Regions from separate parts of the Homo sapiens genome. Here regions 1, 2 and 3 are each linked to region 4. The links are contacts of gene promoters, found by promoter capture Hi-C in blood cells and fetal thymus (Javierre and others, 2016). All regions are on one chromosome and are shown on one strand. Each heading gives the region's core, a stretch centred on a gene start or on the middle of the fragment in contact. The rest is flanking DNA. Distances are from core to core; before and after follow the strand shown.

Region 1 (2,884 bases), core at 372-2,871, 580 kb after region 4:
TTCCTGCCTACATTACTTTGAAAGAAATCCCAGACATTATTTCTTCCATAAAAATATTACTGTGTATGTGTCTCCAAAGATAAGGATTATTTTTCTACTTACCATAAACAATACCATTATTATACCTAAAATGTAATAGTTTTTGATATTAAATATCCATTATTATCTTATAGTTTTATTTGATTGAATCTAGATCCATTTAAAATTCATGCATGGTGATTGGTTGATATTTAAATCTATTCTAATCTTTATGTTCTTGCTCTTTTTCTTTCTTTTAATTTGTTGAAGAACGGGGTTGTTTGTCTTACAAACTTTGTGTCAGTCTGGATTTTACTGATTTCAACCCCTACAGTTTAATATAACTTGCTCATCTATCCTTTTTCAATGGTTTTTGAAATTGGTAGTTTAGGTTAGATTTAGGTTAGGTTAGATTTAGGCTTAATTTTTTTTTGCAAGATAAAATTTCTTAATTATATTTAAACATTTTATACATTGAAATTAAAATGAAAGTTTTGCTGTTGTTAAAGCTTTCATAAATAGTTGAAGTCTTGAAGGAAAACAAAGTTGTGTTAATCTTAAATATATTTTCTTATAAAAATATTGCATGAAAATATGGGTTTTACTGTATCTTCATGAAGGACTTGGATATGTACTTCATTTTTTATTGATATAGGTATTTTAATGTAATGAATTTTCCTCTGAGTACTGCTTTAGTTTTATCTCATAGGGCTGTTTTATCATTAATTTCTAATTTTATTGCACTGTGGCCATTTAATACCAAATGTATTATTTACATTTTTTTGGGAAATTTCTCAGGAGCTTATTAAAAAAAAATCTGAAAAAATACCTTCGCTTTTTTCTTGACTATCTCAAGAGCATATTTTGATTTATTAAGATGTATTCTTTATTAGGATACAGAATTGAGTTTATATATAACCTTTTGGTTATATTGTTCAGGTATTTTGTATCTTAACGATTTTGTCCACTTGAACTGTTCAGGGCTACCCAGGTGTGTTTGTTTCCTTATGTTAGTGGGGTCTATTTCTCCTTTCAATCTTAGGCAGTTTTTGCTGTGTGGAAGCTTCTGCTTTGTTATTTGGTACGTAAATACTGGAAGCTTCTGCTTTGTTATTTGGTATGTAAATACTGATGAATGTTTTATCTTCATTATGATTTATTTCTTATCATTAGAAAATGCCATTCTTTGTCTCGTTTAAAGCTTCTTGGCCTGAGTTCTGCTTTCTGTGTAACTAAGAGATCTATGCTTTCTTTTCATTAGGATTTGCCTAATATATTTTTGCCCTTTTATTCTTTACCTTTCAAGGCCGTTTTCTTTTATGTGCATTGCTTGCATATAGCATAGAGTTAGATTTTGCTTTTTTAAAGTTCCTCTGAAAATCTTTATATTTTAATGAATGAGTTAAACTCATTTTTAAATATAACTGATGTTTGTGTTTTCTATACTACTATATTGTCTTTTGTTATTGAATGATTTATACTATCCATGTACTAATACAAGCTATTCTGCTATGTGATTTGTTTACTTTGCACTTATTTAAGGAGGTGTTTCTTTTGTTATTTAGCAAGGTTTGGTTTTTGTTCTGTCAATTACATTTATACTGATTTATACCAGTATTTTCAACTGAGAATAATTTTGCCTCCCAGACGGACATTTGGCAATGCCTGGAAATATTTTTAATTGCCACAAATAGGTAGGGCGGTGCCACTGGAATCCGATGGATGGAGGCCACGAATGTTTCTAAACATCCTTTAGTACACAGGATAGTTTTCCCATAACAAAAAATGATCCAGCCCAAAATGTTAATAGTGCTGAGGTTGAGGAACTGCTTCATACTAATACTCTTGGTTTCTTCTTCGTTTAGTTATTGTCTGTTGGTTTACTATGAGCAATACTAAAATTATTTGATAACTTCTTCCTCCCTTTTTCTCCCCTACCGTGGAATTTTAATTACCAGAATTATCTTAGTTTTAATTTTTGTACTCTTACATGAACTTAAGCTTCTACTATATTGATTTGACAGCTACAAGTTTTAACTGTTTACTCCCAAATAATCTGCAAACTTAGTTTACATTTCACCTTCTTTCCTTCTTGTCCTACTTCATGTAGCTGTATTAGTTGTACTTTAGCCAAGTGTGTAATAGTTATATATATAATTTAATTACTATTTCTTTTAATCTCACTCTACCATTAAACATATTAAATGCTCACCTTCAAGTCCTTTGCCAAAGTTTCTCCCTCATTTTCTTGGATATCAGAAGTGTAATTATCTATTAAATGTCTCAGAAAGTGCTAATGGAAACAATATTTCTTGATGTGTTCAGATGTTTGTTGATGTTTATCTATGACCTTTATACTTGAAGGACAGTTTGACTGGATATAATCCTTTTTTAATTCTCAAATATGTGTAAATATATCATAAAATTTGCTCCATTAGTTATTTACATAAAATGTTGCTATTGAGAATTTTGACTCCAGAGATATTTCCTTTTCCTTATAAGTAACGACACAATTCCTTTATGCCCAAAGAATATTTTTATTCATCTTTAAAGTTTAGTTGTTGTATACACTTTACCATTTCCAGATATATAGTATATGCTCTCTTAATGTCTATATTTAAGTATTTTCTTATTTCAGTAAGGTTTACTTAAGTTATAAGTTAAATCATTATTCCACTCCATTACTTTGGTTTTCTTTTTAGAAGCACCAGTTATACTTTGGTCTTATTTGCATATGCCTTTATTTTGTATTTCTCTGAATTTTTCTCTATCTCTTTATTTATGTTTTCTATTATTTTATCCTTACTATTCTATATTCCTCACTGTGTTTTCCACAGTGTCTGTTCTGTCTTATGTTCCTTCTAGT
Region 2 (2,700 bases), core at 141-2,640, 600 kb after region 4:
TGAATGTCTCATTTTTTGTGTGTGTTGTTGGAAACTGGACCTTATATATAATATATGGTAGCAACTCGTATATAATATATGCTATCAACTCTGGGCATTGATCCTCTCCCCCTTGAGGCTTGTTGTTGTTTATTTATTTACTTAGTGATTTGCTGGAGTATTTTAGTTAACTCTGTTCCCTCCTTCTTCCCCTCCACACACTGTAAAGCCTGAAATGTTGCTCCTTGGAGAATGTGGTTTTGGGCATATCCACAGTCACCCTGGGATTTGTTTTTCCAGGACTCTGTCTGGTTCCTTGATCACACCTCACTGTAAGTTACACTAATTGCTGGTGGATTTCTGTATTGTTTTAAACAATGCCCTGGGGACTTAAATTGTTCCAAAGACTGATCCAATTAAATTCCAGCTCATTTTCAGGGGTGGTTTGAAGTTAGTGTTTTAGTTTTCTTCTGACCACAGGAGATTTTTTTTTTTAAACTGTCACTTTTTTTTTTCATTTCATCATAAATTTATTTTCAGGCAGTATGATAATCTATTAATACTCGGCATACTCTGAACTTACAGAATAAGTACCACTCTATACTTCCTCATTAATGACTATCATTTTACATGAGCTTCTTCTACAATCACAGTGAGAGAACAGATTGCTACATGTTTGCTAAATACATTCAGTAAGGCACTCAAATCCTAGACACGAACTAACCACAGAACGCTCTTCCCCGCTTTAATAAATTGAAACATGATCTCATTTCCTTCGTTTTCAATGCTTTTTATAGAAAGACACGCTTGTCTTGAACTTGTCTAAACAGAGGTTTATATAAACTAATCCATTATCATGTATAGTTGTAATCAAGGAAATGATTTCACATTGACGGTTTTTAGGTAGGGATAAGTAAAAGCACTGCAGCAGTTTCTGAGGGAATGTCTTCCCTGTGGTTCCTCATACTTAGTACAATGCCTGGAACGTAGCAGGGACTAAATACAGTGAACAAATGGGCAAACCTTTAATTCCCAGGGATCTGCTACATATTGCCTTGACTGGTAGATCATTTCTCCAGAAGAAAGGAAGAAACCAAAAAACAAAAATAATCTTTTTAAACCTCACAGGATTTTCTTAGAAAAAAGTTTTAATTGAAATTCTCTTTGTAAAATGTATTTAATAAAAAATCCAAAGCAAAAACCCTATCGTTTATTTACTTCAAAAGACAAATCATTTCAGTACTTCTTCCTTGAAATGCCTGCCATTTCTTCCTCTGGCCTCAGAAAAGGGCATCGGCTCCATGCTTTACAGTGTCAGGATAAAAATCCAGGAGGGAGAAATCTTGTTGTAATGGATAGCTGCTTTCATCTAACACAAAAAGGCTCTGAATCTTTGATACACAAGGTTCTGCGCTGACTGCCGACAAGGAGTGTAACAGGTCTGCCATGACCATCCCATAGGTGATCTCTGAGGAAGTAACTATCACTCTGTTGAGGCAGTCTGCAAAAATGTTGAGAAGAATCTTCTCTATCAGCTTTGAGTCTACACGGATGTAAACATCATGTCTTCCATCAACTACAGTCATTAAAGCTGGCCTATAGTATATTTTCTTCATAGTAAATGGCAAGCAGCTAAAACATTGTTTGTAGATCCTGTTCTTATCTGTTTCTAGTTCCAATCCATATTTTGCGCAGCCAGTATATATGATGTTGGGAAGAGAAGAAAAGAAATACTCTTCAGAGAACTGTGAGCATTTAGAGCTATCTTCTGAGCTGCCGTAATAGGAAATGACAGCTCTGAAATCTGGGCTTTAATTAGAACCACTCCTGAACATTTATCCTCTAGGTGGGTTGCTAAGTCTGATATCTTCCAAAAGGAAGGTGCACTTTTTTGAAATTTTGCTTTAAATGTAATTGCCCTTACATCATCATCAAACAAGCACTCACAGGATGACCAAGGCATTGTATGCGATTTTAGGTTTTCTAGTGTGTAATTGCGCTGAACAAAAAGATATTTAAATTCCCAAATATAACCTTTTTTCCTTTGCAGTTGAGGGTACCAGGCTGCTCCAGGACTCCATAATACAAGCACATAATGTTGATCTTGGGCCTGTTCCACTGTTAACATAACTTTTTCTGCTTCTGTCCTCTATAACTGTATACTGCCTCTGTCAGTATAGTGAAATCAACAACTCTTAGTATTGTGTGGACTAATACATCAGGCTGAAGGTGCTCCAATTCTATAAAGTCTATACTGTTCACCCTCTGAGGCTGCCTCGGAGGAAGATCTCTGAGGTAGGAATGTTTTGAGGACACCTGTGCCAGTAGGTCTTGAAGTACAACATCACTAACTACACTGGAATATTCTTCAGGCTGAATAGATGAATAACTCCCAAGATTTAATAACTGACTGCTAAATGTTGATTGTAGTACTGTCTCGCCAACCCATTGGTCCTCATGAATAACAACATCTGCGAGTAAAATTATATCTCCAAGAAACACTGTATATGCCCAAAATGCTGCAGTCCTCTACAGAAAAACCTTCTTAGTTTCTGATTGATCAATTACTGTAACTGTTGCTAAAGGCACTTTAGAGCCAGAATTTGGTCCGAATTTTATGTTTATTTCCTTCACATGACATGGAGATAGCACCATGACTAAACAATCATACTTCTGGCTTTTAGAATCACAGTTTTTTATTAATGACTTTTTTTAATACCC
Region 3 (3,012 bases), core at 513-3,012, 620 kb after region 4:
TGATACAGCCACTCTTCACTATTTTAGCTGTTTCTTCTGGTGTGTCTTTAATACAATGTGATTCATTACTTTTAAAAATTGGCTCTTGTCTTGCTACTAGGATGGATAGGACTTTGCTGGCTTGCACCCACCTCACTCCCCTACTCCTGTTATTTTGTGTTTCATCAACTATGGGCATTCTGTTTCCTCTTGAATCTCAGCTTTTGCCACATACTCTGAGGGTCTTCTGTAACTATCTGCACTAAAGTAGTCTGTCAGGCACCCATTGTCACCTTGACCTGGCTTAATTTTTACATGCTACTTATCTTTTAGCTCTCATTTTGTGTGTGTGTGCATATCTGTCCATCTCCTACTAGAATATAAGCTCCATAAGAGCAGGGACCTTGTCTTTCTTGTTCATCTTAAATTCCCAGTGCATTAAACAGTATTTGACATATAAATCTTCTTTGCGTAAATAAAAAAAACAAAACATCATCTTCTATGTTGCCCATATTCCAAATTACAGCTAATGTGAGGATTTTGTCACTGACTATCAGCCACCTGTTGAATTCTTCTCAGCACTTGTCAGGTGACTTGTCCCAGTTCTGTTGCATGGTGGGTAGCACAATGGACTTTGAAGTCTACTATATTCTACTTGCAAGTATTTTATATTGCACAGCTTCAATTTTCCCATCCATGATATCATGAAGAACACTTTTCTTATGAAGATTCAATGAGAAAATAAATAAATATATATATATATATAGTACCTGATATGTGGTAAGCACTTAATGAGTCAAGTTAATATTTTTAGGAGTAGGAGTGTTTGGAACCAGACAGACCAGCATTCGTATTTCCTCACTAACACATGCTGAGACTTCTAGCAAGTTATTCCACCTCTTTGAGTATCCATTTCCTTATCTGCAAAATGGAGATAACTTCTGTGAGGTTGTTTTGAGGGTTAAATGTGTTTCATTCTTATATTCAACACATTTTTATTAAGCCCCTACTGTATGCACTTTACTAAGTCCTAGGGATACAGCAGCGAACGAAACAGACAAGATTCCTGCTCTCTTAGAGCATATATTCTTCTAGGACAGGGGTTGGCAACTTTTTCTGTAAAGGGCCAGATAGTAAATATTTTAGACTTCGTGGGCCATGTGGTCTCTGCTGTGGCTACCCAGTTCGGCTATTGTAATGAGTAAAAAAGCCATAGACAATAGACAATAATGAGAAAAAAAGCCATAGACAATGGATGTGGCTGTGTTTCAGTAAGATTTTATTTATTAAAAAAAGGGCGGTTGGCATGTAGGTCATAGTTTGCTGAGCCCTATCCTGAGATAATAAACTTGTAAATAAGTTTATAAATGATTATGAAGAAAAAATAGAGTCATGAGATAAAGTAGCTCTGTTACCCTGATTCTCTAACCAGGGAGGTGAGGAAAGACCTCACTGAGTGGGTAGTACTTGAGTGCAGACCTGAATGCTGGGAAGAACAATTTGAGCAGACCAAGTGGCAGGTGCAAAAGGCAGGTGTAGCTGACATTGTGTGAAGAGCAGCCTGGAGGCTGGGGTGGCTGAAGTCTGGGGAGTCAGGAGAGATAAGGTCCTGTTAGACAGGTTTTGTGCTTAATGTGATCTGTGATTTGAGTCCCTTGGCTCGGTGTTAATATTGAGTGTTTGATGGCAGCAGAAGATGTTCAGTAAGCACTTCTAGAGCTGAAGATAGCTGTGCAAGTCTGTAGTAATAGGAATGTGGCTCTGAATTTGGAGCTAGGTAACTTGGAGTGAAAACCTGTGACTTTGAGCTTTAATCTATTAAGCCTCAGTGTTTCCACGCATAAAATAAAAGAACTAAATTAAGGCCCATTACGTTATACTTCCAAGACTTAAAAGCAGATTTATTCTGGTTCTTGGCCCAGTGCTTTGAGTTTTGAGCTCTTCACCTTCTGAGAGTAGCTAGTTTTATATGATTGACTGTAGTTAGTATGCTGTGAATATGTGCTCATAAATGTACTATCATAAAGATAATAAGAGCTGAGATTTATTGTTTACCATGTGCCAGGCACTGAGCTAAGTAGAATGGCAACATTCGGAGGAAGGTGTAATTTTTTCTTTCACTGTCAGTGACCAGTAAGTCACACCTTATAGATGCCTCCCTTCTTCCACCCGCTGCACCCTACTCCAGCATCACTTTAACTGATGGTTACTGTTTTTCCAACTTAAGGGTAGGAGCTTCATATGGCTTTGAAGTGATATTCTATTCATGGCAACAAAACACAAAAACTAAGGTTAATTATTTTTCTTCTGGCTGGGCAGAGGCTCCTTAATGAAAACCTTAAGGAAGCAATGAGGTAGAAGCAGATGTTTTGACTCCAGCAGTCATGTCTGAAGAGCTGGTGGCTGTTAGCCACACCACTTGTACATGTGACTACTTATAAATAACTTTTGTTAAATTTTAATGAGCTTTTTTCTAAAACTTTATAATAATGCCTGAAAAGTTTTGCATTTTGTTGGTTTTAAATTTTGGTGGAGCACAGGAAATATTGAGGTATTCCTTGTACTTTGGGAACGATTTAAGTAGGTAGATAAGAATTTCTTCCTAGAGTTTTTTCCTGTATTTTAAACTTTTGCTCAAACTTGTGGAATTGTGTTTTGCTGTGGTTAAGTCTTGAGTGAGTAGTACATTTGCTCCACTAAGTAGTGGGCCATACATGATCAAGAAACAGACTTCAGAGGACCATTTTCATATGGTTTCAAGGAATGTGTTTCTTTCTACTCTAGGGTCATTTCACCTCTGGCATGCTGAATGACAAGTCTCTGTGGACAGACATCCCTGTGAATTTTCCAAAGAATGGCTGGGCTGCAATTGGAACTCACTCCTTTGAATTTGCACAGTTTGACAACTTTCTTGTGGAAGCCACACGCTAATACTTAACAGGGCATCATAGAATACTCTGGATTTTCTTCCCTTCTTTTTGGTTTTGGTTCAGAGCCAATTCTTGTTTCATTGGAACAGTATATGAGGCTTTT
Region 4 (2,700 bases), core at 177-2,676:
AGGGTTTGGATTTAGAATGTTCCAGGGGGAACAGAAAGGAAACAAAGAATTCATGAGACATTTCAAAGGAGGAAATACCAGGTCTTGATGACAGGCTGGAGATGATAATGGGAGAAGTCACACATGATTCCAGTTTTTCTACCTTGGGAAGCCAGCAAAGTGACTTCTTTTTAGATCTCTTTTCTTTGCTCACACACAAATTGACCCCCTCATAGAGTTCAGTTGAAATATCAATTACAAACAGAATTGATCTATTTTTTTTCCCTTAGAAACACAGGTAATCTTATTTGCCTTTAGCTAAACGACCCAAGATGCACCTTGCTGGGCTTTGCTCTTGGATAGCACTCATACCTCTATGACAATGCTCCCCACTTTGGCCTTGTACTGCGTGTGTGGTGTGCAGGTGCGTTTATCACCCACTAAACCAAAAGTCCGTGTTGTGCAGGGACCACGTCTCATGCAGAGTTAAGTATTCAAAAGTTTTTGTTAATTGTTTAAGAAAATGAGATTTACATGAAACAATACTTTAAAAAGCTTTCCAGAAACAACAGCATTAAAACAAAATCACTGAAATTAAAATTTACATAAATTAAAAGGTTCTGTGTTCCACATGCCAAGAAAAGATCTTACACTATTGTAATAGTGGTAGGGTCACACAGTTTTATTCCTCAGCTTAAGTGCTGCAATACAGTAATAATGCAGTACAAGAATACTGTATAATAAACCTTAAACGAAACACTTCATATATACTTTACACAAGTTATTGGATATTGCTTAGTATTTATTTCCCCCACCCCTGCTGTGCAAAGATATTAATATCCCTCTTTTATAGGAGAGGAAACAGGTAAAGAGAAGTTAAGAAACTTGCACAAGGTCATCCAGCTAGTAAATGTTGGAGCTGGGATTTGACAACTTTGTCAAGTCTCCATCCTTAACAGTTCTGCTCTATATTGCATAAGCAGACAGCTCCCTTTTGGGGACTGACAGGTTATTTGAGGCATATGAACCATTTTTGGTGGGGGGGCTTTCCCACCCAGTACTGGAAGTGTCTAGTTATATGGGGCATAACCTTAGGAGCAAGCAGGAAAAGAAGAAATGTATTCCAATAGTGTTCAGAAATATACCAGAGTAAACGAATAACCATCAATAACAGCATTTTACAGCCTACCTAATAACACAGGAATAAAACCCTTTATCTGGAACCTAAATAATACCCCCTCCACTCATTTTATTAAAAGCCTTGCTTTATTTGGAAACTCTTAAAATAAGTGGTCATACGATTAAAAAAAGCAGCGGCGCGCCCCCTCCCCGGCGGCCGGGCGCAGCTGTCCGCGCCTCCCCCGCGCGGCTGCCCGCATTCCAACTCTCTGAGGTCACGGGCCGCCGCCGCCTCCCCGGATCCGCCCGCCCGGCTCAGGGGGAGGGACGCCTGGGCCCGGCCGCCCCGCTGCTCCGGCCGCGCGTCCCGCGTCGGTCCGACGGTCTGTCCGTCCTCCTGCCACCCCCCGCCCCCACGGGGCTTCTTTGTGCGGCGCTCCTCGCCGGCCGGTCCCACCTCCAGGCCTCGCCCCTCGCCGTCGCCACCGCCGGACTCTGCCCAGGGGAATGGTCTGCGAGCCGGGTTTTTGGAGACAGGAAGTGAGGCGTGCGAGCCCCATGAGCGCGCCGCGGCCCGGGCTGGCGTGCGGGTGCGGCTGCGGCGGCCGCGCGGCGGGGCCCCGGGAGGCGGGTCGCTGAGCGGGGCGCGCGGCCCCGAGGATGCGGGAGCGGGAGCGGGAGCAGGTGAGGGCGCGGTCCCCGGCCGGCGGGAGGGGCGGGCGGCTGGCCCGAGCGGTGGGGTGTGTCCACTCGCCCGGACCCCGGAGCGCGCCCGCGGCCCCGGAATCCCGGAGAATGGGGCGCGGCGGCCAGACCCGTAGCGGGAGCGTAACAAAGAGAAAAGTCTTGTTTTTCAGGTTCGCTCTCATATACTTGAGTAATTTCTAAAAGGAGTCTTGAACTTCTATTCCGAACGCCCTGGCCGATTGTTGCGGGTTAATTCTGGATCAGGGTTTTAAATGTGTTAGGCATATTTGTGCCTCTCAGAATATATAAACGTGAAATTCGCCAGATAACTTTGGCGAGAAGGGGCGCAGGGAAGGACTGTTTGGTAACGCCTGGGTTTGTTTTTGGAGTAGAGTATTTACTCTGGAAACAAGAATTCTTGGATCTGCAAATTCCGACTTGTGATTTCTGCAAATCCTGATTAGATTGGCCGCTCTTGGCATGCTCGTCCTATTTTCTTTTTTGCTGAGAAAGCCTTATACTAATAGCGTATGCTCACAAACACATTCAGAACATTCGTGTGCTCCAAGTGACAACTGCTGTATGCCTAATAGTTGCTGACAGTTTATTTATTTTTTTAAGTTTGGGACACGACAGTAATTTTACTCTGAATATAGTCCGTTTCGTTTCTAGGGCATTTTATTCTGGAGCATCTACGCACAGATGTTTTCTCCGTGAGAAACATGGGTTTAATGCTATAGCTATAGATATTACTCTAAAAATGTCACATACTCTCTCCTTTTAGTGCTTATTTTATTTTAAAGCAACTTTGGCAAAATTACATGTGGTAAGGACCTTAATAGGAAAGGGGAAACGCTGTAAGATTGAGAGGTAAAGTGTATTTGAGGAACTTTTGGAAAGGGTTGTAGAGAGGGA

Evidence for each region. Contacts are between HindIII fragments. The CHiCAGO score rates a contact against its expected background, and 5 or more counts as called.
Region 1: a contact is called between a fragment that was not itself captured here and the fragment with the promoter of PTPN21 in region 4, in 5 of 17 cell types (erythroblasts, naive B cells, total CD8 T cells and 2 more). The highest score is 7.0, in erythroblasts.
Region 2: a fragment that was not itself captured here is called in contact with the fragment with the promoter of PTPN21 in region 4 in 1 of 17 cell types (total CD4 T cells); the score reaches 5.4 in total CD4 T cells.
Region 3: a contact is called between a fragment that was not itself captured here and the fragment with the promoter of PTPN21 in region 4, in 4 of 17 cell types (monocytes, M0 macrophages, naive CD8 T cells and 1 more). The highest score is 7.6, in monocytes.

Annotation. Positions count from the first base shown.
Region 1 is chr14:87,972,670-87,975,553 of GRCh38, reverse strand. The region is part of intron 7 of GALC (galactosylceramidase); the gene reads left to right. Among named protein-coding and RNA genes, the nearest start is that of GALC, 19 kb to the left of the region's middle. The HindIII fragment of the contact is 800 bases long and covers 1,222-2,021 here.
Region 2 is chr14:87,953,763-87,956,462 of GRCh38, reverse strand. All of the region lies in intron 10 of GALC (galactosylceramidase), which reads left to right. It also overlaps the pseudogene SHLD2P2. Among named protein-coding and RNA genes, the nearest start is that of GALC, 38 kb to the left of the region's middle. RefSeq lists an enhancer at 1,104-1,273. The HindIII fragment of the contact is 4,341 bases long and covers 1-2,700 here.
Region 3 is chr14:87,934,630-87,937,641 of GRCh38, reverse strand. It overlaps GALC (galactosylceramidase), which reads left to right. Exons shown (of 17, transcript NM_000153.4): 17 at 2,764-3,012. The coding sequence ends at 2,910. Among named protein-coding and RNA genes, the nearest start is that of GALC, 57 kb to the left of the region's middle. The HindIII fragment of the contact is 5,069 bases long and covers 1-3,012 here.
Region 4 is chr14:88,553,733-88,556,432 of GRCh38, reverse strand. It overlaps PTPN21 (protein tyrosine phosphatase non-receptor type 21), which reads left to right and starts at 1,426. Exons shown (of 19, transcript NM_007039.4): 1 at 1,426-1,782. It overlaps LOC124903405 (proline-rich protein 2-like), which reads left to right. Exons shown (of 2, transcript XM_047432047.1): 2 at 1,373-1,776. The coding sequence ends at 1,737. RefSeq lists a silencer at 1,419-1,468. The HindIII fragment of the contact is 3,064 bases long and covers 537-2,700 here.